Regions from separate parts of the Homo sapiens genome. Here all the other regions are linked to region 2. The links are contacts of gene promoters, found by promoter capture Hi-C in blood cells and fetal thymus (Javierre and others, 2016). All regions are on one chromosome and are shown on one strand. The core of a region is centred on a gene start or on the middle of the fragment in contact, and the rest is flanking DNA. Distances in the headings are between cores, read along the strand shown. Region 1 overlaps SPRYD3 (SPRY domain containing 3). Region 2 holds the start of ATF7 (activating transcription factor 7). Region 3 overlaps CBX5 (chromobox 5). Region 4 overlaps LOC105369777 (a long non-coding RNA gene).

Region 1 (3,436 bases), core at 12-2,511, 560 kb after region 2:
TGCACCCCCGTCTGGCATCAGGGTCCCAGGCTGCAGCGACCGAGAGCTAAGAGGCCTCAGATGCCCACTCCGTGACTCTCATGTCTTTCCTTTTTCCCCTCAATCTACCATCATTCTGACAACATCTACAGAGTTAAACTTGGGGCTGCGCCAGGGCGATGTTCCAGCTCTCATCTCTGACCTCTCCTCAAGAGTTTTTTCCTGGCATCCTTTCTCTGCCTGGACCTGTCCCCACTCTGCTCTCAGCTCCTCCCAGGCAATCTTTTCTAATTGATGCAGAATCCTGTAGACATTTATAAATAGCCTTCCTTCCTCCCCACCCTCCCCCCAACACCTTCAGCCACTTATTTAAGAGTGTTTTTCTTTTTTAGACATAAGCTGTTGAATTGGGCCCTTCTCTCAGACCCTCACCCCAGCTTGGGCCAGGTGGCAGGGTGGGAGCACTACTCCTGGGGCACCCGTTCCTCTGGGGCCAACTTGGATGTGAGCTTCCTGAGGGACATGTGCCTTTTTCCAGTCATGCCAACTTTCCTTTTTTTTTTTTTTTTTTTTTTAAGACAGGCTATCACTCTGTCACCCAGACTGGAGTGCTGGTTCACTTCAGCCTCCAACTCCCAGGCTCAAGGGATCCTCCCACCTTGGCCTCCCAAATTGCTGGGATTAGAGGCATGAGCCACTGCCCTGGGCCTCAACAGTTGTTAGATTTGAGTCTTTGGATATAGACAGACCTGGCTCTTTCTTGAGTGGAATTCTTCCCCTGCCTCCTGTGGCCTGTTTCCCCCTCCTAAAGAGTCTACCTCCTCAGAGCTCTGAGGGGTTGAGGAATTGCTGGGGCACTTGCCTCTCACCTCATCCCTGCCTCCAGGCCTCGCAAAGTGAGGTAATGTGGTGGAGGGGAGCTGGGGGCGGTAGGTAACAGCTGGGGGATTAGACTCATTCTGTGTTTGTGCCCTGTTCACAGCTCCTCTGACAACTCCTTAGTGACAGGGGCAACAGCTTTGGTACACACAGGGTGGTGAATGAGGCCCCGCCCTCCCAGGGGTCCTCCCCAGACCCAGCCCAGAGGGAGGCTGTGCTGGAGCCTGAGCTGGCCAGGAGAGTGTGTACTTGGTTCCTGTTTCAGTTGCTTCTGGGCCCTCAGGGCACTGAGCCCTTCCTTGCTCCTGTCAAGAGGGATTAGGGTCTCTGCTGGCAAGGGGAGGAGGGCGGATACCGGCAGGGGAGAAGAGGCTGGGAAGGTGCTACTGGTAGAGGGAGGGTGTGGAGTGCACGAGACTGTCCACACTCTGGTCTGCAGCCGCCACTCTGTGGCACTGAGTCATGTCTTTGGCTTCTTGGGGCTTTGGTGGTATGTGTGTATTAGGGGGAGACCCAAAGAAAGGGCTCCATCTTCCCCCACCAAAAATGCAGAGAAACATTTCTGTTGATTGGACATTGTTTGAGAGGAGACACATAGGGTAGAGTTGTCTGGGGAGTGGCCATCGTCCTGGTTGGCCTAAGGGACCATTGTAGTTGGAAGTAAGGGCTAAGATGAAAGATCATTTCCTTCTTTGTGATCGGCAATTCCAACGTAACCCCATTTACACTGATTTAGGGAGAGGCAGCAATGTGTATTGGTCACTTCATTAAGTCTTCCCACTTGTTTTTGGAAATTCAGGTAATCTTATCCCAGTTTACTGTTGAAGAAACCAAGGCTTAAGGAGGTGAATGTCATTTGCCTGAGGTTAGCGGCTGTTAAGTAATAGGAGTTAGGATTTGAACCCAGGTCTGTTGGATTCTGAGGTACAGGTTGAGGGACCAGCATCAAGATCCTAACAGTTCAGACTCTAAGGGTTAACCTTCACTCCTCCTCTAGGTTCCTAACAGCTATAGACCAAGGAGGCAGAGGAATGTACTCAAGAAAGAATCTGTCAGGGAGGCCAAATATTCCCCCCACTTCCACCCCTCTGAGTTCTCTGGGAAGGCTCAGGAGGGGTCGGGGGAGCTTTGTCCAGGAGCAGGAGAGTGGATCAGGAGGTTTATGATGGCTTTCACTGTGAGGGCTGGGCGGTCCCCTCTGAAGAGGGCACGCTGTACAAGCCTCACCTATACACTGTACAAGTACCTAGTCGTCCAGGACATCAGCATTCTGTCCGAAGTGCTCTGTGGTTGGCAGGTAGAGAGTGGGTTTTAAAGACCCATGTTGGGGTAGTCCGTCCTGGCTTTTAGCGTGAGAAAGCACCTCCACCCTATCCAGAGACAGAAATGCAGCAGCTACCCTCTTCTGAGCTGAGGCAAAGGGAGGGGCTGGCCGGGTATTTCCCAAGGATCAGGGTCTGGATCGGCTGTCTTTTGGCTCTGGAAATGGAGAACACTGTGTTTCCTACACCGAGGCCAGTTGGATAGAATGGGTCAAAGGCAGCTGTGGGGTCCCCCACCCAGTTCTGCAATGCTGGGTGGAGAGGGTGGGCTGGGGGCTGCTCTGCCTGGGTGGAGTCTAAACTAGTTAATGTGGATCAAGCCACACCCCTCCTGGCTTCCCGGGGAGAGAGGCAGAGGAGGAACCCAGGCTGAGCAGAGAATACACCATGAACAGAAGTCAAACAGTGTGGCCTTGGGGATGGGCTTAGGTGGTCTCCCGTGCATGCTGCTTTCCCCCTCATCCATCCCCAGTTATCTTTGGAGAGGAGGGAAGGATGGACTTGAGGTGGCGGGGCTGAGATCCAGGGCTGAGAAAGGCACCAAGCCCCTCTAGTCCTACTCTCAGAAGGGGTTAGTAGCACCCCGCTCTAAGCACCTGAGCTAAGCAGCGGCCGTCTGAGGCTGGGAGTGGGGATGCGGGAGCAGCCTCTGCTGGAGACACGCACAGGCTTCTGTGCTGGTGCAGGTGGGCATAATTCCTTTCCTGTTCAGGCAGGAATCTGTGAGAGGTGAGAGGCCGGCGTCCCAAAGCTTGCCAGGGAGACGTGGAGGAGGTCCCTAGGCAACATGTTTCCTTCAGGGCTGCAGGGGTGGGAGGGTAGAAGAAAGTCGTGAGGGGCAGTTGGGCTAATTAAAAGGAGATTAAGGAATCCCAGGTGAGGCCGAAGGTGGGGGAAAGAGGGGATGGGGTTGAGTCATCACCCCACTATTACCATGACAACTGACAAATAAATCCTCCCAGATTGGGGGTTGCCGCCCCGTCGTGCCCAGGCAGGACCATTGTGGGACTGAAGAGCCCCAAGAACCCATCAGTCATCTCCCCTATCCTACCTCCACGCCCCTACTCCAACTTGAATGAGCAATGAGGGGCTGGGAACAGCTAAGCCTGCCTCTGTCTTCATTTTGACCTCTCCTCTCCCTCACATGAAATGAGGGAGTAGAGCTGGGCGTTCTGGGTCCCTGGGCTCCCCTCAGCACCTCCCTGACCCAGCTAAGAACAGCTGTGTTCACAGCCAAGTAAAACAAGGACCTTGAG
Region 2 (3,388 bases), core at 210-2,709:
AAGAAAGAAAGATTTTACATCTGTTTCATTTTAGGTATCTAGGGAGAAATCACCCAGATTCTTCCTACCTCTCAGAGGGTGCTGTGAGGATAGATGAGATGCTAGACAGAAAGTTCAGAAAGCTGAGTAACATAAAGCTGCAAAAGGAGAGAACAGAGATTCCATAGATAATATTTTAAGTCAACTACAATTCGTTAAATTTTAAGAAAATTATTTATTTTATTTATTTATCGAGACAGGGTTTCACTCTGTTGTCCAGGCTGGAGTGCAGTGGCCTGATGTGGGCTCACTGCCACCTCAACCTCCTGGGCTCAAGCGATCTTCCCACTTAGCCCCCCGAATAGCTACTACAGGTGCAGGCCACCATGCCCGGCTAATTTTATATTTTTTCGTAGAGCTGAGTTTTCGCCATGTTGCCCAGGCTGGTCTCAAATTCCTGGGCTCAGGCGATCCTCTTGCCTCGGCCTAGCAGTGTTGGGATTACAGACGTGAGCCACTGCACCCAGCCTGTTTTTTGTTTTTCTTTTTTCTTTTCCTGGTTTGTCTTGAACAAGACATATAAATGTAAGACTATAGACTTTGCATTTGATATTTCCCCCGAAATCTTCCCAGGTCATAATTCAACTCCTGGTGTGTTACTTCCTCAAAGAGGTCTTCTCTCAAACACTAGGAGTAAAGCTTCTTCCCCACTCCTAGTCACCTTCTGTCTCACTATCCTGAAGCGCTTTTCACTATTTGAAATATTTGTGTTTATTGGCTTTTTAACTGTCTCCCCTTCCTCACTCAAATATAAATTCTACCTGGGTTGGTAACTCCTTAACCCCATGCTTAGAACAATGCTTTGCACGGGGGGTATAGCTCAGGGATAGAGCATTCGACTGCAGAACAATGCTTTGCATGTAGTATGCCCTACGTTTTGTGAAAATATTTGCTGAATAATATAGTGATTTTAAAAAATCCCCAAGCAGTTTCATGTATCTCATTTGATCATTACAACTATTTGAATAAAATGAGATTGTTAGTCCCATTGTACAGAGACTCAGAGAAGGTTTTCACCCAAGGCAATAGGGCTAGTAAAATGGTAGTGTTAGAATTGCTGTGCGGGTGGATTGCTTTGTCCGTACATGGACTTCATTTCTAGCGCTAAGGGTATTTTAAATTACTTTGCCGTTAAGGAAGCGATGACTCTGAAAGATAGTAGTAACCACCACTACAGGCACCTGTAAAGATCCTCTCTCCTTTTTCCTTTCTTTCTCCCGCTAGATTCTGCAGCCGAACACGTGTGACCTGTGTGGACAGTACTCGCTCAGTCTCCCTCCCCAGCCCTGCCCACAGTAAGCCCGGCCCCTTCTTTTCCCGGAGCCCCCGCCTCTCGGCCGCTTTCCAACTCAGCCCCCACGGATCTCGCCCTTCCCCCGCGGACCCATGACTTCTCGCGAGAGTTGAGCGCGCCTGGCCGGACGGGAGGAAAGTATCCGTTCCGCCAAGGGGGGAAAGGAGGAGCTGGAGACAGATTGTAGGACCGAGCGCGGGCAGGCGGGAGGCAACGGAGCTACCAGCCGGTAAGTCCTTTTAACATTAGCTAGTCCATGATCTGACGGGAGTCTCCCTTTCAACTCTGGCCAGTCCCAGCGTTCCAGGCTGGGGTCTCCCCTCCCAGTCTGTGTTGGACGGGGGCGCTGAGGCGGTGGCCGGGCCCTGTCTGAGGAAGAGGGTGGGGCATAGGCCAAAGCCGACCAATGGGAGAGAAGGAAGCCTCGATTGGCGGCGATGAGCGCTAATGGGAGATCGCTTTTACGTTGCCGAGCGCCGCCCTTCTCTCCCTACTCCCGCCTCCTTCCTTTGGGGGGAAGGCGGGGCCAGAGGCTTGAAGTGTGGGGAGAACTTGGTGTAAGTAGCCCCGGGGGGCACAGGGCGTGGCAAGGAGAGGGGAATTGAATCCTGAGGGAAGGGTAGTCTAGTGGAGCCTAATGGAAGGATCATGGGATGGGGTGGAATGGGAGAAAGAGGAGGGATACTAAACTAAGTTAGAAACCCAGGGCTTCCCAAAGAGTGGGATTAGGAGCTTGGAATTGGAAAAGGGTAATAGGAAGGAGGTAGGAATGAGTAGATGAGAACAAAGATCTTGATCTGGTGACACAACACCCCGTTGGGTTTGGCAGAAAAGATAGATGGGGTGGATTATTGGAAATGAGGGTCATGGCATTTTGATTGAATTAATTAAAAGAACATCAGGGACATGATATCAGAGAGAAAGTATGGATTTGGAGAAAATTAAGTGAATTAATTTAAGAGGACAGTATGGGTGAGCTGAGTCGCCATAAGGCATGGCTTCTGGAAGGATATGAGCCTTGAGAGCGATAAGAGGTGTTTGGGAAGGAGATGGCTGATATACACATGTCTTTAGCCTAGGTATCAGGTGGTTGGGATATTGATTTAGGGCTTCTGGTGGATATGGCACCCAGACTGGTGACCAGCCTCCAAGATGCTGGGATGGGGGTTGAGAAGGAGAAAAATAGAACGCTTTCATCGCTTCTCTGATTTTCCTTCTCCCTCTCTTCTATTACCCAAACTCTTCCCAGACACCAGGATGTGGTCTTGGGACTTAAGCAGTCCAAGTTGGAGCCCCATAGGGACTTAATATGTTGCTCTGAATTGCTTGTTATGTTCTCTGACTGGGGTGTTTACAACCCAGGGCACCTCCTACCCAGATTCCCGCGTTGCTACTTTCCTAACTTTAAAAGTTTGTTTTCTGCTTAACAGAGGGTGTTTTAGTATCTCTGAGGGTCATGTCATATTAAGTACAGGTGTGTAGGGGGTGTGCAGAGTTTTCTCAGCAAGCTCACATGAGTCCTGTGTTTAAAAATTTTGCAGTAGTGTAATTCTTGTAGCGATATCAGTCTTTATGGGCATTCTAAGCAGAAATATACTAAAATGAAGTTTGTTTTGTTAAATGTGGCTTCCCCAGTCATTCTCGAAGAGTTGTCGAATGGGTGGTTGCAGTTTGTTTTAGTTAACTTACATAATGTGTTTTTAAATAGTGTAAATAAAATAGACATGTTATTTCAGGAAAGTGAAAAATGTTCAGTTTTTTCCTTTGTGTCCAGACTCAGAAACTAAAGCTATGTCATAATATCTTAGGCCAAGGGCTGGGGAAATCAAACACAATTTGTACTTACACATGGAAGTTGTAAGGTAAGTGGAGGCTCTTGCGAAATGTAACATGTCTGTAAGAAAAGAAGCTAAAGAAAAGTTTGCAAGCTCTGCTAAGTAGTCTTACCAGTTCTTAATTCTGTACAGAAAAGGGACAGGGCTTTGCCCTTTGTTTGATAGTTGTGTATCATTTAATAACGAATTGGACTAATATAGCCAATTAATAACTTCTTTG
Region 3 (2,978 bases), core at 117-2,616, 620 kb before region 2:
TTTTTTTTTTTTTTTTGAGACGGAGTCTCGCTCTGTCGCACAGGCCGGACTGCGGACTGCAGTGGCGCAATCTCGGCTCACTGCAAGCTCTGCCTCCCGGGTTCACGCCATTCTCCTGCCTCAGCCTCCCGAGTAGCTGGGACTACAGGCGCCCGCCACCGCGCCCGGCTAATTTTTTGTATTTTTAGTAGAGACGGGGTTTCACCTTGTTAGCCAGGATGGTCTCGATCTCCTGACCTCATGATCCACCCGCCTCGGCCTCCCAAAGTGCTGGGATTACAGGCGTGAGCCACCGCGCCCGGCCCCGGCCCTTTCTTTTGTTCCAGTGATAGCATTTGTTTTCAATCCTTGATAATCTTTTTTTTGCAGTGAAAATCATATAATATACAATTAAATATTTTATTTATTTATTTATTTTGAGACAGAGTCTTGTTCTGTCACTCAGGCTGGAGTGCATGGGCGTGATCTCGGCTTACTGCACCCTCACCTCCTGGGTTCAAGTGATTCTCCTGTTTCAGCCTTCTGAGTAGTTGGGATTACAGGCATGTGCCACCATAGCCAGATAATTTTTGTATTTTTATTTTTATTTTTTATTTATTTTTTTGAGACGGAGTTTCACTCTTGTTGCCCAGGCTGGAGTTCAATGGCATGATCTTGGCTCACTGCACCCTCCATCTCCTGGGTTCAAGTGATTCTTCTGCCTCAGCCTTCCAGAGTAGTTGGGATTACAGACATGCACCACCATGCCCAGCTAATTTTGTATTTTTAGTAGAGAGGGTGTTTCTCCATGTTGGTCAGGGTGGTCTTGAACTCCCTAACTCAGGTGATCCACCTGCCTTGGCCTCCCAAAGTGTTGGGATTACAGGTGTGAGCCACCATGCCTGGCTCAATTAACAATTTTAAAATGTACAGTTCAGTGGCATTTATATTCTCTTGATCTATTATTTCTACATACTTGGCGTACAAAATTAATTTTTGTCTTTTGAATCTTCTTCAGTTTGGGAAGTGTATTTATGAAATTTTGGTTTGATTTAGTTGCTTTAATCCTTCTGATCTTTAGCTCTCAAGTAAGTAGCATAAGCACTGTTATTGCCTCTCTCTCTTTTCATCTGTGTGTGGGCGCATAAATACACACACTCTACCACCTCCTCCCGCCCCCAGCTTCCATTCCTTTTATTTATTTCAAGGTTATGAAGCCTTTTGTGGTGAAGGATGTATCATACACTTTACATTTCATAAAAGCGTAAGTCTACTTCGGAATCTTCCAGCCTTCCAGAGTAGCTGCCACAATCATCCCTATGTATCTTCATTCTAATTAGATTTATACCTTTCTAGAGCATTAGTTCTCAATGCTACACATTATAATCACCTGGGGGGTACGTTAAAAAAAAAAAAAAATCTCCAGTGCCTAAGATGCACCCCAGACCAGTAAAATTAGAATTTTTTTTTTTTCTTTTTTTTTTGAGACATAGTCTCACTCTGTTGCCCAGGCTGGAGTGCAGTGGCACAATCTCACTGCAACCTCTGCCTCCTGGGTTCAAGCGATTCTCCTGCTTCACCCTCCCTAGTAGCTGGGACTACAGGCACATGCCACCATGCCTGGCTAATTTTTTGTATTTTTAGTAGAGATGGGGTTTCACCGTGTTAGCCAGAATGGTCTCAATCTCCTGACCTCGTTATCCGCCCATCTTGGCCTCTCAAAGTGCTGTGATTACAGGCATGAGCCACCACACCTGGCCTCTGTCATTTTTAAAAAGGAGCAGTCTGAATAATCTGGCTTGGAGCCACTGGCCAGTGCACAGAGTTTTGTTCCTAGGCCAGGTTCTGAAGCTGCCGACCTTGAAAACAACCCCCACATGTCCCTTACATCATAATGTTCATCTGGGACCCCTGATAGCATTCTTAGCAGTACTGGCTGCTGTCAGGTAGACAGCTGGAAAGATAGGTGATTGTATGTTTTAAAGGTATAGGAGGGGATTGTGTTTATTTCTTAAGACCACTGGAGAAGAAATTTGTTAGTTTGCATTATGCCTGATTTAAGATTACTGCCTGTATGATGATTTTAGCATTTTCTTCGCCCTGGCTCCTTTTCAGCAGCTTGAACGTTTTTCTTCCATTCGCCTCCTCTTCCCTCCCTATGTAGCAAACTGTTTTCAGTTGCCAGTTATGATTTACAACTTAGTCCATGCACCAGCATTCCAGCTGTGAGCAGCTGTGTGCACATCTGGGAACTTCTTCCCCTTAAGCACCCCCAAAAGAGGCTATGTTTTTAAAAGTCAGTATCTCTCATTGATCCACGCGTGGAATGTCCTTCCAATTGTGAATTTTGGTATCTTTGGGGACCACCCGGACCCCAAATGCTTTGTATGTCTCAGAGGAAAGCAGGTGAACATAAGATCAAAGAGATTTTATTATGAAAATCGGGCAGTAGAGATTTAGTTCATTTGGGCATCTCTAAATCTTTTTTTTGTGTGTGTGTTGCCACTAGAGAGGCTAGCATTATCTTCCATAATAAAGTTTTTTCAAATTACCTAGTTTGGGCCGGGTGCGGTGGCTCACGCCTGTAATCCCAGCACTTTGGGAGGCTGAGGCGTGTGGATCACTTGAGGCCAGGAGTTCAAGACCAGTGTGGTCAACATGGTGAAACCCTGTCTCGACTAAAAATACAAAAAATTAGCCAGGCGTAGCCGGGTGTGATGGCTCACATCTGTAATCTCAGCACTTTGGGAGGCCGAGGCAGGGTGGATCACCTGAGGCTAGGAGTTTGAGACCAGCCTGGCCAAAATGGTGAGACCCCTGTCTCTACTAAAAATGGAAAAATTAGCCAGGTGCGGTGGCACGCACCTGTAATCCCAACTACTCAGGAGGCTAAGGCAGGAGAATCGCTTGAATCTAGGAGGCAGAGGTTGCAGTGAGCTGAGATTGTGGCACTGCACTCCAGCCTGGGCAACAGAGCAAGACTCTGTCTCAAAAAAAAA
Region 4 (3,125 bases), core at 291-2,790, 570 kb before region 2:
GAAGCTGAGGTGGAAGGATCACTTGAGCTCCGGAGTTTGAGACCAGCCTGGGCAATATAGTGAGACCCCCATCTCCACAGAAAAATTTAAAAATTAGCAGGGTGTGGTGGTGCACATCTGTAGTCCCAGCTACTTGGGAGGCTGAGGTGGGAGGATTGCTTGAGTCTGGGAGGTGAAGGTTGCAGTGAGCTAAGATTGTGCCACTTCCCTCCAGCCTGGGCAACACAGTGAGACTTTGTCTCAAAAAAAAAAGGCTGGGCATGGTGGCTTACTTGCGCCTGTAATCCCAGCACTTTGGGAGGCTGAGGCAGGCAGATCACCTGAGGTCAGGAGTTCAAGACCAGCCTGGCCAACATAGTGAAACCCTGTCTCTTCTAAAAATATAAAAATTAGCCGGGCGTGGTGGCAGGTGCCTGTAATCCCAGCTACTCAGGAGGCTGAGGCAGGAGAATCCCTTGAACCTGGGAGGCGGAGGTTGCAGTGAGCCGACATTGTGCCACTGCACTCCAGCCTGGGTGACAGAGCAAAACTCTGTCTCAAAAAAGAAAAAAAAAAGTATGTCCCTCAAAGTGTTGCTGAGAGGAGTAAAGGAAACAATCCACATAAAGCACTCAGGGTGGTGTCTGGTGTGGACAAAGCACTCACTAACGGTTAGTTATTGTCACTATCACCCTTACCACTATTCTGAAAGATGTGGAATGGAGGACAGAGACAGAGAGAGGGATCACCAGAGAGATGAGAGGGGCAGTATGGGTGGGAAGGAAAGGACAGGTTCAAGAGGGCTGCAGGAGCAAGAGAAGGCAAATGACAGAGCCAGGGCCAGAGGCAAGGAAATTGTCTTTTGGGAACATTGCAGGGGAAGGAGCAGAGCTCAGAAGAATCACCCTAGGTTCAAGTTCCTGCTCTGTGACTGGTTCCCTGGGAGTGCAGGGCAAGGCAGGGCTGGGCCTCGGTGTTGAGTAGGCTGGAAGCTAGGATTCTTGGGTCGTCCTCCCACTTGGTCCCATGGCCACTCTCTCAGACTCATCTTGATCCTCTTCTAGTTGCTCAATTTGGTTCAACCTGTGGGAGATGCTCCTCCCATTCTCCAAGTCTCACTTCCATCCTTCCTGCTAAAGGACTTGGGGATCAGTCCCATTCCCTTGTCTGTCTGTCTATCTGATGTCTGTGTGGTCCCTCAGGATAATTGCTCTGGACAACTCTAACACCACTCAGACAGATTGTCCGGCCTCCTGGCCCTGACATCTCCCACCACTGCATCAAGCCAAATTACTCGGCCCCCCCAAGCCCCGGGCTCTGGTGAAATCCGATTAGTGAGGAGAGAGCTGCACTGAGCTGACAGCTCCTCCGATAATTGCTTCCCAAGTAAGTGATGCAAATCAGCCCATCCAGCCTATTCCTGCTCCTCTCTTGGGGACCCAGGCGTCCAGGCCCCAGGAGATGGAGGACACCAGAGTTGAGGAGACCTAGACGCTGTCATCTTCCTCCAGTTAAGTAGGCATAATCCATAAAGCTAGGTTGTGCTGCCTTGGGGCTGAGGTGTGCGTAGCAGGGTAGCGAGGCTGAGCCAGGGACCCCACTGGCTCTGCATTTCTGTCTTAACTGAGAGGGTGTCACTTTGTCACCTTATTCTCACCCCTTGGAGAATAATCCCATTTCTTGTAAGGTAGATGAAGGCAGAGATATAGAAGATACAGAGACAGCGAGATGGCTGAACCTGTTGAGAAACAAATCAGGCAGGTGCGGTGGCTTACACCCATAATCCCAACATTTTGGGAGGCCGAGGTGGGAAGATCACTTGAGCCCAGCAGTTCAAGACCAGCTTGAGCAACATAGCAAGACCCTGTCTCTACAAAAAAAATTTTTAAATTAGCTGGGTGTGGTGGTGCGCACCTGTAGTCCCAGCTACTGGAGAGGCTGAGGCGGGAGGACTGCTTGAGCCTAGGAGGTCGAGAGTGCAGTGAGTCATGATCATGCCACTGCATTCCAGAGTGAGACCCTGTCTCAAAAAAAAAAAAAAAAAAAAAAAAAGGACACAAATGGATGAACTCACAGCCTAGCTCCTCTGGTTGTGGGCCCTGCAGATAGCTTTCTCTCTTTGTAAGTGCCCCTCCTCACTAGGCTGAGGAAAAGACATGGAGTGTTAAGTCCCCACAGATGGAATGGGGAGGCATGGGGAATCTGATCAAGTCTGGAGACTTTTGCATCTGTGCCAAGGACATGTCCTTGGGATGCAGTGGCCCTTGCTTAACTCACACATCAAGGAGCCCTTTTCCCTTCCCCAAATCAGGGCCCTTTAAAGGGCCTGTTAATGCTTCTTCCTTAATGCATTTCCTTCCTACATCTTTACTTCAGGTTCTTTCTTGCTGTGACCTCCTTATCCCAACTTCTGCTGACCTTGGAGACCTGAAGAGTTACTTTCCTTGCAATCCTGAACTTCCAACTCCAAACCTAACCCTGCATGCAGGTCACTGTCTTTGGGAAATCTACAGGATGAGCTCCCCAGTCTTGTCCTCCGTGCTTGTGTGTCTGATAGGGCTTCATGGACTGGGTCTTGGGTACTCAGACTATCATCTGCCTGAGACCCTGGCAGAGCAACAGCAATAACTACCCTTTGTGGAGCCCAAATTCTGTAATAAGCACTTAATGTAATTAAGTCATTTAAACATCACAAAAGAAGATAGAGATTACAATGATTATCCCATTTTACAACTGAGATAACTGAGGCACAGAGAAATTAAGTAGCATGCCCAAGGTCACCATGAGTAAGTGGCAGAGCTTGGATTCAAACGCAGCAGTCTGATTCCAGAGCCCAAAGTCCTGAGGCCTCTGCTATGCTGTCTTCACTGTCCTATGCTCTTTTGATGTTTGTTGGGCTAATCGGGACAGGACCCAGTGTAGTGGAAGTGGGGAAGGTGGCTACACTGAAAGTTAAACACCAGAACCCCCTTTGGGGCTCCCCATGTCAGAAACAGTGAGTGGGAGCTGAACAGGGTGAAACTTAGTATCTATGAAGGGGGAAACATGGCCTTCACCTTCTCCAATTCCCGACCTTTGTTTTGTGCAGTGGGAGGCCCCGCAGCTAGACAGCCCTTCCCCGTGAGAAGCGGCGAGGCAAGGGAAAG

The links. Contacts are between HindIII fragments. The CHiCAGO score rates a contact against its expected background, and 5 or more counts as called.
Region 1: a fragment that was not itself captured here is called in contact with the fragment with the promoter of ATF7 in region 2 in 1 of 17 cell types (neutrophils); the score reaches 7.0 in neutrophils.
Region 3: a fragment that was not itself captured here is called in contact with the fragment with the promoter of ATF7 in region 2 in 1 of 17 cell types (M1 macrophages); the score reaches 5.1 in M1 macrophages.
Region 4: a fragment that was not itself captured here is called in contact with the fragment with the promoter of ATF7 in region 2 in 1 of 17 cell types (neutrophils); the score reaches 5.5 in neutrophils.

What each region holds. Positions count from the first base shown.
Region 1 is chr12:53,068,842-53,072,277 of GRCh38, reverse strand. All of the region lies in intron 6 of SPRYD3 (SPRY domain containing 3), which reads left to right. Among named protein-coding and RNA genes, the nearest start is that of SPRYD3, 8.8 kb to the left of the region's middle. RefSeq lists enhancers at 1-13, 1-396. The HindIII fragment of the contact is 3,345 bases long and covers 1-2,933 here.
Region 2 is chr12:53,624,453-53,627,840 of GRCh38, reverse strand. ATF7 (activating transcription factor 7) reads left to right here and starts at 1,459. Exons shown (of 12, transcript NM_006856.3): 1 at 1,459-1,562. ATF7-NPFF (ATF7-NPFF readthrough) reads left to right here and starts at 1,459. Exons shown (of 15, transcript NR_159377.1): 1 at 1,459-1,562. RefSeq lists an enhancer at 1,533-1,602. The HindIII fragment of the contact is 3,816 bases long and covers 681-3,388 here.
Region 3 is chr12:54,247,850-54,250,827 of GRCh38, reverse strand. All of the region lies in intron 3 of CBX5 (chromobox 5), which reads left to right. Among named protein-coding and RNA genes, the nearest start is that of SCAT2, 13 kb to the left of the region's middle. RefSeq lists a silencer at 1,623-1,822. The HindIII fragment of the contact is 5,143 bases long and covers 1-2,978 here.
Region 4 is chr12:54,191,805-54,194,929 of GRCh38, reverse strand. The region is part of intron 2 of LOC105369777 (a long non-coding RNA gene); the gene reads right to left. Among named protein-coding and RNA genes, the nearest start is that of SMUG1, 4.4 kb to the right of the region's middle. The HindIII fragment of the contact is 8,187 bases long and covers 1-3,125 here.